Regions from separate parts of the Homo sapiens genome. Here all the other regions are linked to region 4. The links are contacts of gene promoters, found by promoter capture Hi-C in human tissues and cell types (Jung and others, 2019). All regions are on one chromosome and are shown on one strand. Each heading gives the region's core, a stretch centred on a gene start or on the middle of the fragment in contact. The rest is flanking DNA. Distances are from core to core; before and after follow the strand shown.

Region 1 (2,700 bases), core at 92-2,591, 740 kb after region 4:
TGACACACAGCCCAGTCTTAGTGAACGTGAGATGAATGAATAAACCCCAGCCAGGCAGTTCTAATGGAAGCTGCCGTATGGACTCAGGGTGAGCAACTGACCAAGCCAGGCCATGCACAGTCCTTCCGTGGGGTTTTCCCAGCTGAGGCTAAAGAAAGACGCGCAGATCCCGCCCGGTGGCAGATGGCATGGCATGTGGCTCTGGAGCTCTCTGTCCCCCAGTAACCCCATCCCCACCCCCCAGGAGGAAGAGGCTGCCCGGCCAGAGGTAGATGTGCTGAGAGCAGCAGGGATGAGGCTGGAGACGTCCTGGGATCTCTGAGCCTTCCTTCTGTTGCAAAACCACAGAGTCCTGACTTCTAGGAAATTCCTTTCTTGCCTCAGCAAATTTGAGCCAGGTCTCTGTGACTCATTAGTAAAGGACCCTGATGGGCACAGATGGAACAAGAGGCCAAGGGAAGGGTGGGGCCTCTTTGTTATAAACGAGGTGCAGCTGGGCATTGTGGCTCACGCCTGTAATCCCAGCACTTTGGGAGGCCGAGGTAGGCGGATCGCTTGAGGTCAGGAGTTCAAGACCAGCCTGGCCAACATGGCAAAACCCCACCTCTGCTAAAAATACAAAAATTAGCCAGGCATGGTGGCGGATGCCAATAATCCCAGCTACTTGGGATACTCGGGAGGCTGAGGCAGGAGAATCGCTTGAACCCAGGAGGCGGAGGTTGCAGTGAGCCGAGATCACACCACTGCTCTCCAGCCTGGCAATAGAGCAAGACTCGGTCTCAAAATAAAAAAAAGGCACAAGTGAAATGGTCACTCAGCTGAGACAACAGAGATGGGAGTCTGATCTGCTTTAGGGTTGGATTAGACCAAGCTCTATGGGTCTCTTCCAGCCCCTGTGTATCCCAGGGGCTCCCCCACCTCTGTGGGCCTCTGTTTCTCCCATTATAAAATGATGGGGTAGACGAGATGGCCCCTGAGCCAAGTCTGGTCGAAATGTGGCATCCGAACTGACGCCCAGTAGATTTCTGACCAGTCTAGCCCATCACCCCACTGGAGGAGGGAGACACAGGCTGAGGACCACTGACCAGTCAGCCAGGAGACCTAGGCCCTGGGCACTGCTGGGCCGGTTCAATCCAGCGCCCTGCCTGGCAAAACCCCGCTACGACTCATCAACACGCAGCAACTCCCCCTGCCCCCAGCTCGGCAGCTCCAGTGTGGACAATCGGCAGAGCTGCTCAGGTGGATCTAAGACTCCCCTAATGAGATTCTTGACGATTGGGAAACTAATGATATGCTCAACTCATCTTTAATTGGCACGGTGCTGCTGGAGATGCCAGCGCGGGCGAGACGCGGGGCGGCTTTGACTCAAGCCATCATTATCGCTCCTTGGCGGCACTTGGTCCTCGCCCACCCTCAGAGCCATTGCCCCCGCCGCCCCGCTGCCCCCACCCCCCAGGCTGCGGTCTGCCAGCTGGGCCCTCAGTGGCTCCTTCTGTCTGGCCTGCAGGGGGGCCCCAGGCCTGTCCCCATGCAGATACCCCGCCCTGGGAGGCTGGTCACATTCTTGGGCGCTGAGAGGTCCCTCCCTCCCTCATCATCGGCGTTTCCCTCGCTGGGTGGGCCTCAGCCCTATGGAGGGGTCTCATGAATGGTGCAGGAAGCAGGAGGGGGGTGCTGACCGGTGCATGGGAACCTGCTTTCCTGGAGACCCATCTTAGCTCTTTCCATCCTCAGCTCCTGACCCCTTTCTCAGCCTCATTTTCCCCACGTGCAAAATGCAGATAACGTTAGCCCTTCCCCCGGGGGCTCACGAGTGGGCAGCCCGCACTGTGTGGTCAGACTCATGGGAAGACGAAAGGGTGCGGGAGAGGTCTGATGCCCGCTGCTCGCCACCTCCGGGGGTGTCCAGGCTGGGCACAGCAAGCTCTGTACGACCAGCCAGGGCAACCTGAGTCCAGTGACAGCCCAGTGCGTGGGGTCCACAAGGGAGACCCAGTGCCAGGCCGGCGTGGTGGGAAGAGGAGCTGCAAGTCATGCTGGGAGCCGGGGAAGGCAGACAGTGCCAGGCTGCAGACTCAGCCAAGGTCCAGCCAAGCCTGCTGCGCTGTGGCACCTGAGACACAGGTGCCCACCTTCTCCCCCTTGAAGCTCTCTTCCCGGAGCTCCCCAGCCCCCCGCTTCTCCTCCTGCCTCCTTGACTTCTCTCTCAGCCCCGATTGAGCCAGCCCGCAACTGTGGGGCTCCTAGAGGTTCACTTTGAGGCTCTCTTGCCCTCTCACTCACTCCCCCTCCCTAGGGGAGCTCACCTGTGACCTTACCTCGAATAACCACCCCCATGGATGGTCCCTAAATGTCTCTCTTTGGAGGCCAGCACCTCCAGACGCCCTGCAGGAACCGCTCCCCTTACTCAGTCTCCTACCACAGCGAATGACACCAACTGCCTAACCAGCTGATCAAAGCAGAACCCTGGAAATCATTTCTTTTTTTTCTTTCTTTCTTTCCTTTTATTTTTTTTGTTTTGAGATGGAGTCTCTCTGTGTTGCCCTGCCTGGAGTGCAGTGGCACAATCTCAGCTCACTGAAACCTCAAGCAGTTCTCCTGCCTCAACCTCCAGAATAGCTGGGATTACAGGTGCACGCCACCACACCCGGCTAAGTTTTGTATTTTTAGTAGAGACAGGATTTCACCATGTTGGTCAGG
Region 2 (2,700 bases), core at 39-2,538, 730 kb after region 4:
CGTGATGATTTCCAGCCCCAAGAAACTCCGTGAGTAATGGGAAAGGCCGTGTGTCTCTGTGTAGGGAGACAGATGGGAGTGGACAGACAGGCTGGCAGAGGAGCCATGCCAGGGAGAAGCAGGCAAGCTCCTGGGAAGACCACCCTGCTGCAGAGAAAATAATATAAACCATGACACCTGCCAGCTGTCAGGGGCTGAGTGCAAGCCTGGGACAGGTTTTTCTATTCTTTTTTTCTTTCAGATGGAGTCTGGCTCTGTCGCCCAGGCTGGAGTGCAGTGGCGCGATATCGACTCACTGCAACCTCCACCTACTGGTTTCAAGCAATTCTCCTGCCTCAGCCTCCCAAAGTAACTGGGATTACAGGTGCATGCCACCATACCCAGCTAATTTTTTGTATTTTTAGTAGAAACGGGGTTTCACCATGTTGGCCAGGCTGATCTTCAACTCCTGATCTCAGGTGATCCAACCACCTCAGCCCCTCAAAGTGCTAGGATTACAGGCATAAGCCACCATCCCCAGCCAGTTTTTCTTATTTGTGTTCCAGAAATTGACAAGCCAAGTGTGAAATTCATATGGAATGCAAAGGACCTAGAAGACCCAAAACAACATTGAAAAGAGTGATGTTGGAGCACTGGCACTCCCTGATTTCAAGACATATGACAAAACTATTGTGATCAAAACAGTGTGGCATTGCTATAAATACAGACAAATAGATCAATAAAACAGAATAAGAGTCTCGAAATAGATGCCCATATACATGGACAACTAATTTTGACACAGATGCAAAGGCAACTTAGTGGAGAAAAGAGAGGCTTCTCATCAAATGGGTTGCAACGTTTGGATATCTGTTCACGCAAAAAAGGAGTTTTGGTCCATAGTTCACACTATATACAAAAGTAAACTCAAAATGGATCATAGACCTAAATGTGAAACCTAGAATTATAAAGCTTCCATAAGAAAACATAGAAGAGCATCTCTGCGCTCTTTTCTTACAGGTAAAGATTTTTTAGACATGGCATCAAGTGTGATCCAAATAAAACTTAATAAACTGGACATCATCAAAATTAAAGACCTTCTGCTCTTTATTTTATTTTATTTTTTTGAGACAGAGCCTCACTCTATTGCCGAGGCTGGGGGCAGTGGCACAATCTCCACTCACTGCAACCTCCACCTCCTGGGTTCAAGCGATTCTCCCACCTTAGCCTCCTGAGTAGCTGGGACTACAGATGCCTGCCAACGTGCCCAGCTAATTTTTTTGGTAGAGATGGGGTTTCACTATGTTGGCCAAGCTGGTCTCAAACTCCTGACCTCAAGTGATCTGCCCACCTCAGCCTCCCAAAGTGCTAGGATTACAGGCATGAGCCACCACGCCAAGCCCCTTCTGCTCTTTAAAACTCACTGTAAGGAGAATGAAGGGACAGCTCACAGGCTGTGAGAAAATATTTGCAAACCATAGATCTGAAAACAAACAACTGAATTTTAAAATGGGCCAAAGATTTGAACAGATACTTCACCAAAAAGACACATAGATGGCAAGTAAGCACCTGAAAAGATATACAATGTCATTAGTCGTTAGGAAAATTCAAATTAAAACCATAAGATAGCTCTGAACACCTATTAGAATGCCTAAAGTTAAAAAGACTGACCATATTAAGTACTGGTAAAGATTGGAGGAACCGGGACTCTTTAGACGCTGCTAATGGAAATACAAAATTGTACAACCACTTTGGAAAATAGTTTGAAAGTTTCTTTCTTCTCTACTAAAAATACAAAAATTAGCCAGGCGTGGTAGCACATGCCTGTAGTCCCAGCTACTTGGGAGGCTGAGGCAGGAGAATCGCTTGAACCCAGGAGGCAGAGGTTGCAGTGAGCCAAGATCACACCACTGCACTCCAGCCTGGGCAACAGATCTAGACTTGTATCTCAAAAAAAATTAAAATTAAACTACAAAAATTAGCTGGGTGTGGTGGTGGGTGCCTGTAGTCCCCGCTACTTGGGAGGATGAGGCAGGAGAATCGCTTGAACCCAGGAGGCAGAGATTTCAGTGAGCCAAGATCACACCACTGCACTCCAGCCTGGGCAATAGAGCAAGACTCCATCTCAAAAAAAAAAAAAAAAGGAAAAACGTATTGATCAGTAAGAATCCATAAGTAAATTCATACATCTATGAACAACTGGTTTTTTACAAGGATGCCAAGGCCATTCAATGGTGAAAGAATTGTCTTTTCAACAAATGACGCTGGGACAGCTGGAGAGCCACATTTTAAAGAATGAAGCTGGACCCCTGCCTCACACAAACATTTATAGAAGAAAATATTTGCAAATCATATAGGTCATATATCTGATAAGAGGTCTACTCTCCAAAATATTGTATAAAGAACTATATAGTATAGTATAATATAAAAAACTCTTTTAACTCAAGAACAAAAAGACAAACCACTCAACTTAAAAATGAGCAAAGAGGCCGGGGGCGGTGGCTCACGCTTATAATCTCAACACTTTGGGAGGCCAATGAGGGCAGATCACAAGGTCAGGAGTTTGAGACCAGCCTGGCCAATATGGTGAAACCCCATTTCTACTAAAAATACAAAAATTATCCAGGCATGGTGGTGAGCACCTGTAGTCCTAGCTACTCAAAAGGCTGAGGCAGGAGAATTGCTTGAACCCGGGAGGTGGAGGTTGCAGTGAGCCAAGATCAC
Region 3 (2,700 bases), core at 83-2,582, 570 kb after region 4:
TGGGATTACAGCTGTGAGCCACTACGCCCAAACTTCACTTTCAAATATACGTAAGTTAAAGGGCAAGTTATTTAGAAATTTCTAGAAAAGGGATGATAACTTCCAGGTCACTGCCATGAAAAGGGGTGGTAACTTTCGGGTGTTGCCATGGCAATGCTAAACTGTTGCGGCGCTGGTGGGCCTGTCTTAGGGAGAAGAGCTTTCAGTGCCTCTTCTGTGTTTTAGCTAGTCTTCAATCAGGTCTGGAGTTGACTCCCACCTCCTACCTCAATAGTGTTATATGTACCGTCAAGCAATGCTCAACCCTGGGGATACATTCTGAGACATGCGTAGAATATTATATGCATATTGCTATAATGTTATAGCACCATATCTGTTTGTCTGCACGCATGTTGTTGGACGATTTCGTCACGTGTAAGTGACCTTCCACAGATCCAGTAGTGTACTCTAAGATGGCAGAGCCTACCCCATGGCCAGGCTGTACGGTGTGGCCTGTGGCTCCTGGGCTCCAGGGCTCCAAATGTGCACAGCAGGTGACAGCACTGAACGCTGCAGGCAACTGCAGCACAATACTGTATGTCTGTATGTCTCAACACATCTAAACACAGAGAAGGTGCCGTGAAAACACAGGATCAGTGACTTTAAAGTGGCGTACCTGATATGGCACTTAGCACGAACGGAGCTTGCGGGAGTGGAAGTTGCTCTGGGTGAGTCGGTGAGAGAGGGTGAGTGAGTGTGAAGGCCTGGGACGTTACTGTGCACCACTGGAGACTATTTTTTTGAGACAGGGTCTCGCTCTGTCGCCTAGGCTGGAGTGTAGTGGCACCATCTCGGCTCACTGCAACCTCTATTTCCCAGGTTCAAGCGATTCTTCTGCCTCAGCCTCCTGAGTAGCTGGGACTACAGGCGTGCACCATCAAACCCTGCTAATTTTTGTATTTTTAGTAGAGATGGGGTTTTGCCATGTTGGCCAAGCTGGTCTCGAACTCCTGACTTCTTGTGATCCAACTGCCTCGGCCTCCCAAAATGCTGGGATTATAGGTGTGAGCCACCCTTCCTGGCCTACTGAAGACTTTATAAACACTGTATACTTAAGCTATACTCTGTTTATTAAAAATATTTTTTCTTCAATAATAAAGTAACCTTAGCTTACTGTTACTTTGTAAACTTTAAAAAAATTTTTACTTTTTGGTAATACTTAGCTTAAAACACAAACACGTTGTACAGCTGTACAAAAATATTTTCTTTCTTTATTTTGTAAGTAAGTTTTTTTCTATTAAGGTTGGTGCAAAAATAATACCATTACTTTTTAATCCCATTACTTTTAATGGCAAAAACTGCAATTACTTTTGCACCAACCTAGTATTTTTGAAACTTTTTTCTACCTTTTTTTTTTTTTTTTTTTTTTGATGGAGTCTCGCTGTGTCATCCAGGCTGGAGTGCAGTGGCACGATCTCAGCTCACTGCAACCTCCGCCTCCCAGGTTCAAGCAATTCTCCTGCCTCAGCCTCCTGGGAAGCTAGGATTACAGGCACATGCCACTATGCCTGGCTAATTTTTGTATTTTTAGTAGAGACGGGGTTTCACCATGTTGTCCAGGCTGGTCTTGAACTCCTGACCTCAGGTTATCCTCCTGCCTCGGCCTCCCAAAGTGCTGGGATTACAGGCATGACCCACTGTACCCTTTTTTCTACTTAAAAAATTTTTTGTTACAAACAGAAACACACATATTAGCCCAGTATTAGCCTAGGCCTACACGGGGTCAGGATCGCCAATATCACTGACTTCCCCTCCATATCCTGTCCCAATGGAGGGCTTCAGCAATCCCTCCTGAAGGACCTGCCTGAGGCTGCTTTATAGTTACTTTGTTTTTGTTTTTAATCAGTAGTAGTATACTCTAAGATCATGATAAAAAAGTTGGCCGGGTGTGGCGGCTCACGCTTGTAATCCCAGCACTTTGGGAGGCCGAGGCGGGCGGATCATGAGGTCAGGAGATCGATACCATCCTGGCTAACACAGTGAAACCCCATCTCTACTAAAAACACAAAAGATTAGCAGGGCGCGGTGGCAGGCGCCTGTAGTCTCAGCTACTCGGGAGGCTGAGGCGGGAGAATAGCGTGAACCCGGGAGGCAGAGCTTGCAGTGAGCCGAGATCGCGCCACTGCACTCCAGCCTGGGCGACAGAGTGAGACTCCATCTCAAAAAAAAAAAAAAAAAAAAAAGTATAGGATAGTATATACATGAACTAGTGACACAGTGGTTTATCATCATTTGCAAGTACTGTGCACTGGACGTAATTGTATGTGCTAGACTTTCCTATGACTGGTGGTGCAGAGGGCTTGTTTACCCCAGCATCACGGGTGCGTACACACACATACACACACGAGTAACGTACTGCACGGTGACGTGACGATGGCCACCACAGCACCAGGCGACAGGGAATCTTCAGATCCACTACAATCTCTCATGAGACCCCTGTCGGATGTGCAGTTAGTCACTGACCAAAATGTTTCTACGCGGCGCACGACTGTGTATACATTTGGTCATAATGCTTTTCTAAAAAACAGTGTCTCACTCTGTTGCCCAGGCTGGAGTGCAGTGACACAATCATAGCTCACTGCAGCCTTGAACTCCTGGGCTCAAGTGATCCTCCCACCTCAGCCTCCCAAGTAGCTGGGACTACAGGTGCATGCCACCACA
Region 4 (2,700 bases), core at 11-2,510:
TGAGACAGGAAGCAAAAATATGCCTGTAAATCCAATCAAGGTTGAGATGAAGGCAAAGCTGGCTGTTATCGGCAATATTAAAACCTGGAAAAATAACTCTCTTTATAGATTTAGCGCAAGAGATAAAGAAAAATCAAACTGGAATTTCACAGGGTGCCTGTCCCACTAAGGAAGTCTCTGGAGATGGACAATTCTGAGGGGCAGGAGGACAAAATCACCGGCTCTGCCACAAGCTGTTCCTCCGATCCAGACCTTGGGAGGTCTGACTGGTCAGCTCTGGGGACACGTAGACCCGCAAACCTGCCACCGGGTCTTCGGTTTTTGCCGTACCCCCAGCTGCTACACTCACAGCACACCCAGCCATAACGGAGTACCCCATGTGCCCTCTCCCACCCTCTCAGATTTCTGGTTGTCATGCAAATGCCTGGCTCCCGAAGTGAGCTCCACCCTGTCCCCTTTTTCAGGAAAGAAAAGGGGAGGCGCTGGGCTCTCAGAACACTTCCAGGGCACTCGGGAACCCCTCCCTCGGTGGCTTCTCAGGAACACACGGACACCCTCGCTGGAACTTCTGCACGAACCGGTGGCACAGCCCGACGATATCTCCCACCTCGGGAACCCCAGCCACGCTCCCGCGCCGCTCGCCAGCCCCGCCCCGGGCGCCCTCACCTTCCTCGCTCACGTCGTCCACGAAGTCCTCGGGGTCGCTGAAGGAGGGCTCGTCCGCGTCGCCGTTCTCCAGCGCCCGGGGTTCGGCCTCGGCCGCTCTGCCCTCGTTTCCTCCCGCGTCCTCGGACACCGCCTGGGCCCGGCTGTCGGAGCGCTCGTCCCGAGCCTGCTCTCCTGGGGCCTCGCCCTGTGCCGGGACAGGGGGCTCAGCATGCGACCCGGGCAGCTCCTCGGCGGCCGGCGGCGAGGGCGACTCGGACGGGCCGGAGGCCGCCTCTGCCTCGGCCGCCGGCTCGGTCCTCACCTCGGACTCCGGCCCGGCCTCCGCGATCCCCACCTCCTCACTGGAGGCCTCGGTCCCCGCGGCCTCCGGAGCGCCGGGCCCCGCGGGCCGCAGCAGCCCCTCGGCTGGCGGCGGCTCGGCGGCCGGCTGCTGCTGGCCGGGCTCGGCGCGCTCCTCGGCCGCCTCGGGCACCGCCACGTTCTCCGCGTCCTGCATGGGCCCAACGCTGCCTACTCGCAGGGCTCCGCGGCCGCCGCGCTTCCGACTCTCCCAGGCCGCACCGCGCGCCGCGACGGCTACAGCCCAGCCATGTGCGTGCGACGGGGAGGCCGCACCAAGGCCGCGGGGCGGGGGGCGCACCCACGCCCTGGGGCCTCACGAACGACCCTGAGAGGACTCGCATCCACAAGACCGCGCCCGAAAATCATCAAACTGATATATTTGTGACAAGAAAGTGCTTAATTCCATTCAGCAAGGTTGTTTCTGTGCATCAGTAAACTCATGGGAGCATTGACCACCCCATGTGTGGCAGCAGATGGTTCCGTCCAACATGGCGTCCTCCCCCTTTCCTTTCCCGTCGGACGCTGCGGGGCGGGACTGAACTATTTGTGGAGCTGAAGGCGGGGACAAGAAATGATTTTAGTACCCGGAATGCTAGGAAAATGTCCTCTAACTCAACAGTTAATACCCTGGAAGAGTGGAGACTCAACAGGCGATTGCTCAGGGCGTCTGAGCCTTTCGCTAGGGAAACCGTTTAGTTTACGTTACTAAAGTCCCCCCTGTCCGTGTCTGTCACTTGGACTCGCCTACTGACTGAGCAAAAGGACAGACTACTTCAAAATAGAAAAGGAATTCGGGGCGAGCCAGAGAGGGCCCACACGACTAGAAGGACGACTGCCTGGCGCGATACAAAAATGTATGGAAGTTTCTTTAATCGCTTACCCCCAGTCCTTCCCTAGCGGCCGTCACTGCCTGTTTCCCCCCATTCGGGCTTTCACAGTGGTTCAGTCCATCCGAGGCCGCCGCCTTCAGCGCGGGACAGCGCGGGTCACGTGGGGGCGGGGGCGGGTCCTCGCCGCGTGGAGCTCGAGGCTGACTCCGGAGGGACCGGAGCGGTTCGCTCTGCGCGGGTGCTCACGGGACGGGCATTGGGTGCATGTGGCTTCTATCTTGTTTTTTGCCGGAGTGGAGGACAACCACTGGTTGGGGGATGTCTTAATCATCCTAGAAAACAACCCAGTGGATCACGCCTGTTATCCCAGCACTTTGGGAGGCTGAGGTGGGAAGATCGCTTGAGCTTAGGAGTTGGAGACCAGCCTTGCCAACATAGCACCACCACCCCCCGCACGCCAGCCCTCATCTCTACGAAAATTAAATAAATAAATAAAACAGGTGGTACCCAGAGGCTGGGGTGGAGAGTGGGGAGTGTTTATCGGGGACGGACCTTCAATTTGGGAGGATGAGAACGTTTTGGAGATGACGGTGGTGATGGTACAACATGGTGAATGTACTTGATGCCACTGAACTGTATACTAAACTTCATATTAAAATGGCTAGGCCCTGCGCGGTGGCTCACACCTCTCTTCCCAGTACTTTGGGAGGCCAAGACAGGAGGATCACTTGAGCCCAAGAGTTCAAGACCAGTCAGGGCAACATAGCGAGACCCTGTCTTCGAAAAAATAAAATAAAATGCCAAAAAGGTAAATTTTATGTATATTTCATCCTATAGTTTTTTTGTTTTGTTTGTTTTC
Region 5 (2,700 bases), core at 179-2,678, 900 kb after region 4:
AGGCCACAAGGGCTCCCTGCCTAGCAGCTGCTTGCATGCCCCTGGTGACGGGGAGCTCACCACCTACACACAGGCCTCACTGACACTTAGGCAGCTGGCCATGAACACTACGGTGTCTCACCAGGGACCAGCCTCAGAAAAGATCTGGAACAGCACCATTGGCTGGGGTTGGAAGACCTCAGTTTCTCCTCCTCCCAAGGGGCACAGAGAAGCTGCCCTGACTCCCTGCCAGGGGCTACTGCGGGAAAACACCTTCCTTCCTGCAGGCCCTGCCCAGACAAGCCCTGGCCCCACAGCCAGGAGGGTAGGCCCCCCTCACATGGCTGGTGTCAGTGATTCCGCCCTCGTCCAGCCCCCGTGGCCACAGACAAGGTTCCCCAAGGATAACGGGGCCAGGGGCCAGTCTGGGATAATTTAGGGCCCCAGCAGAGGGACTTTCCTTATTTCTTCTGTCACAGCTCAAAGTGGAAAATTGGAACTACCCTGCAAGTCAGCCTGAGGAATCTCCTGCCCCAGGAACAGATCCTGCCCACAGGCCCCCAGAAGAAAAGCACAGGCCAGCTGTGCAACTCCGGCTCCACGGCCCCCTTCCTGGCCTCAGTTTCTCCTCTGGCAATGCCCAGGCCTCACCTCTGCCTTGCCTGGAACCCCCGCTGGCATGTAGCGGCCTGGAAAGAGAAACCAGATGCGGACGTCCTTTGAAACCCTGAAACACAAGGCGCCTCCTGCTCCCCGGGAGGCCGGGCTGCCGAGGGCTGAGGCCCTAGACAGGGCAGGGTGTTCGAGCCTCAGTGTCCCCGTTTGTCAACGGCCTTTCCTGCCTCTTCTCCATGGCGGTGGGGTGAGATGGTGGTGGGAGGTGGGGCGGCGAAAAAGAAAATTCCAGGTCTCCGCAGGGGTCCAGAATGGCAGGACCCCCAAGCAGACCGCGCCCCTTCACCGGTTGGGGGTCTCGGCCCTCAGCGGCGGGGCGGGGCCTGGGGAGGGGCCAGGCGGCGTGGGGCGGGGCCTGTCGGGCGGGACCTGACAGCGTGGGGGCGGGACTTACCAGGAGGCGGGACGTGCCTAGGGCGCGAGCCCGTACTGGGGCCGGGCGGCGTGGGGCGGGGCCTCTCGGGAGGCAAAACCTGGAGGCTGGGGGCGGGGCCTGTCCGGAGTCGGGGCCTGCCTGGAGCGGGAGCCTGTGCCGGGGCCAGGAGGCGTGGGAACGGGGCCTATCAGGAGGCAGGACCCGGCGGCTGGGGGCGGGGCCTGTCGGGAGGTGGGGCCTGCCTGGGCGGGAGCCTATGCCGGGGCTGGGAGGTGTGAGGACGGGGCCTATCCGGAGGCAGGACTTGGCGGCTGGGGGCGGGGCCTACAAGGAGGCGGGGCCGGCGGGGGCGGGGCCGGGCTCGGCTTCTCTTAGGGACCCGGCACTCGTCGCCCTCAGTCCGGCTCAGCTGGGGCTGGGCGCCGTGGGTCTGGCGGTTCCGTAGCGGTCCCAGCGTCTGTCCCGCCGGCCGGGCGGTCGCGGCACAGCCGCGGGAAGGTGTCGGAGGGCGGTTCCGCCGCGCGGCGGGCGCGCCGCCCACATGGCGGCCATCAGGGCGCTGCAACAGTGGTGCCGGCAGCAGTGCGAGGGCTACCGCGACGTGAATATCTGCAACATGACCACGTCGTTCCGCGACGGCCTGGCTTTCTGCGCCATCCTGCACCGCCACCGGCCCGACCTCATGTAAGTCCTGCCTGGCGCCCTTTGATTCTTCTGCTGTTCGGCTGCGCGCTGACACGGGCGGGGAAACTGAGGCCCGGGCGGCTGGGGGATGGGGAGCCGAGGCGTGGGACTGGGCAGGCACAGCCCACCGTGCAGCCCCCCGAGGCTGTCCTCAGTGGCCTCAGTGTGCCCGGACACCGAATGCAGCTGGGCCAGAGCCATGGCATCCCCCGCCCGCCGGCTGAGTCAGACGTGACTCAGGGCGGCTCCTGGGCCCTGGCTTCAGTCCAGTCCCCCTCTGTGTCCCTGGGAAAGGCCAGCAGAGCTGCCTCTTTGGGCCCTCCGAGGCTCTCACTGCCCAGGGGCCTGGCCACCAGATGGGGTCCCTGGATAGCCCTCGTATGGGCACTGACCCTCCCCCAGCCTGTTCAGGCCCCTGGGGGGATGTGGCCAGGGCCACTGTGGGGGAGCGGCCAGTGCAGGGCAGGAAGCCCCCAGACCCCAGGTGCTGCTGCCAGCCGGGCCTCTGAGGCCCCGGGTGATAGGGCCCGAGATGGAGAACAGCCCCCATCTCTGGGAGCAGCAGGAGGTGGCAGGGGTTGAGGACTAGGCTGTCTCTCCCCAGGAGGGTCTTGGCGTGTGTAGCTGGGCAGCTGGCCCTGCCCGTTGCTGAATCTTGGCCCGAGCCTGGACCTGCTCCATTGTTTATTCACTCAGCAAACGCTCTTTGGCTAAATGACTGGGACCAGGCTTGCTGGGACAGAGATCTGTGTGTCGGGGCTGGGGGCCAGACGCTCAGGAAGGGGGGCCCTCAACGGCCACCTGCAGCCCAGGCACCTTCTGGGCAAAGCGTTCTCCTGAGTGTGTTTTTGGTGGGAAGGTCTCGGGGTTGGGAGGAGCCACAGGCAGCACCTGGGGCCTCTGTCAGGCCGCAGCTGTGCAGACCAGAGAACCGAGGCTAAGAGGAGGGGTCCTTGCTCAGGTCACACAGCCCCAGCCCGTTGCGC

The links. The method cuts DNA at HindIII sites, captures the fragments that hold promoters and counts their contacts. A contact is called where the count stands out against the background at its distance.
Region 1: a contact is called between a fragment that was not itself captured here and the fragment with the promoter of EIF3B in region 4, in 3 of the 25 tissues and cell types used here (lymphoblastoid cells, mesenchymal stem cells and spleen).
Region 2: a fragment that was not itself captured here is called in contact with the fragment with the promoter of EIF3B in region 4 in 2 of the 25 tissues and cell types used here (heart right ventricle and lymphoblastoid cells).
Region 3: a contact is called between a fragment that was not itself captured here and the fragment with the promoter of EIF3B in region 4, in 1 of the 25 tissues and cell types used here (dorsolateral prefrontal cortex).
Region 5: the fragment with the promoter of MICALL2 here is called in contact with the fragment with the promoter of EIF3B in region 4 in 1 of the 25 tissues and cell types used here (lymphoblastoid cells).

What each region holds. Positions count from the first base shown.
Region 1 is chr7:1,609,515-1,612,214 of GRCh38, reverse strand. No RefSeq gene overlaps it. Among named protein-coding and RNA genes, the nearest start is that of PSMG3-AS1, 41 kb to the right of the region's middle. RefSeq lists an enhancer at 2,600-2,700. The HindIII fragment of the contact is 8,361 bases long and covers 1-2,700 here.
Region 2 is chr7:1,627,825-1,630,524 of GRCh38, reverse strand. No RefSeq gene overlaps it. Among named protein-coding and RNA genes, the nearest start is that of ELFN1, 41 kb to the left of the region's middle. The HindIII fragment of the contact is 6,415 bases long and covers 1-2,700 here.
Region 3 is chr7:1,779,365-1,782,064 of GRCh38, reverse strand. No RefSeq gene overlaps it. Among named protein-coding and RNA genes, the nearest start is that of ELFN1-AS1, 38 kb to the right of the region's middle. The HindIII fragment of the contact is 9,526 bases long and covers 1-2,700 here.
Region 4 is chr7:2,353,387-2,356,086 of GRCh38, reverse strand. It overlaps EIF3B (eukaryotic translation initiation factor 3 subunit B), which reads right to left and starts at 1,260. Exons shown (of 19, transcript NM_001037283.2): 1 at 667-1,260. The coding sequence starts at 1,165. It also overlaps a transcript of SNX8 not described here. RefSeq lists silencers at 804-913, 964-1,053, 1,234-1,373 and enhancers at 2,174-2,243, 1,914-2,469. The HindIII fragment of the contact is 17,363 bases long and covers 1-2,700 here.
Region 5 is chr7:1,458,198-1,460,897 of GRCh38, reverse strand. It overlaps MICALL2 (MICAL like 2), which reads left to right and starts at 1,428. Exons shown (of 17, transcript NM_182924.4): 1 at 1,428-1,714. The coding sequence starts at 1,572. It overlaps MICALL2-DT (MICALL2 divergent transcript), which reads right to left and starts at 979. Exons shown (of 2, transcript XR_001745046.2): 1 at 631-979. RefSeq lists enhancers at 1-53, 54-605, 2,029-2,700 and a silencer at 936-1,655. The HindIII fragment of the contact is 47,250 bases long and covers 1-2,700 here.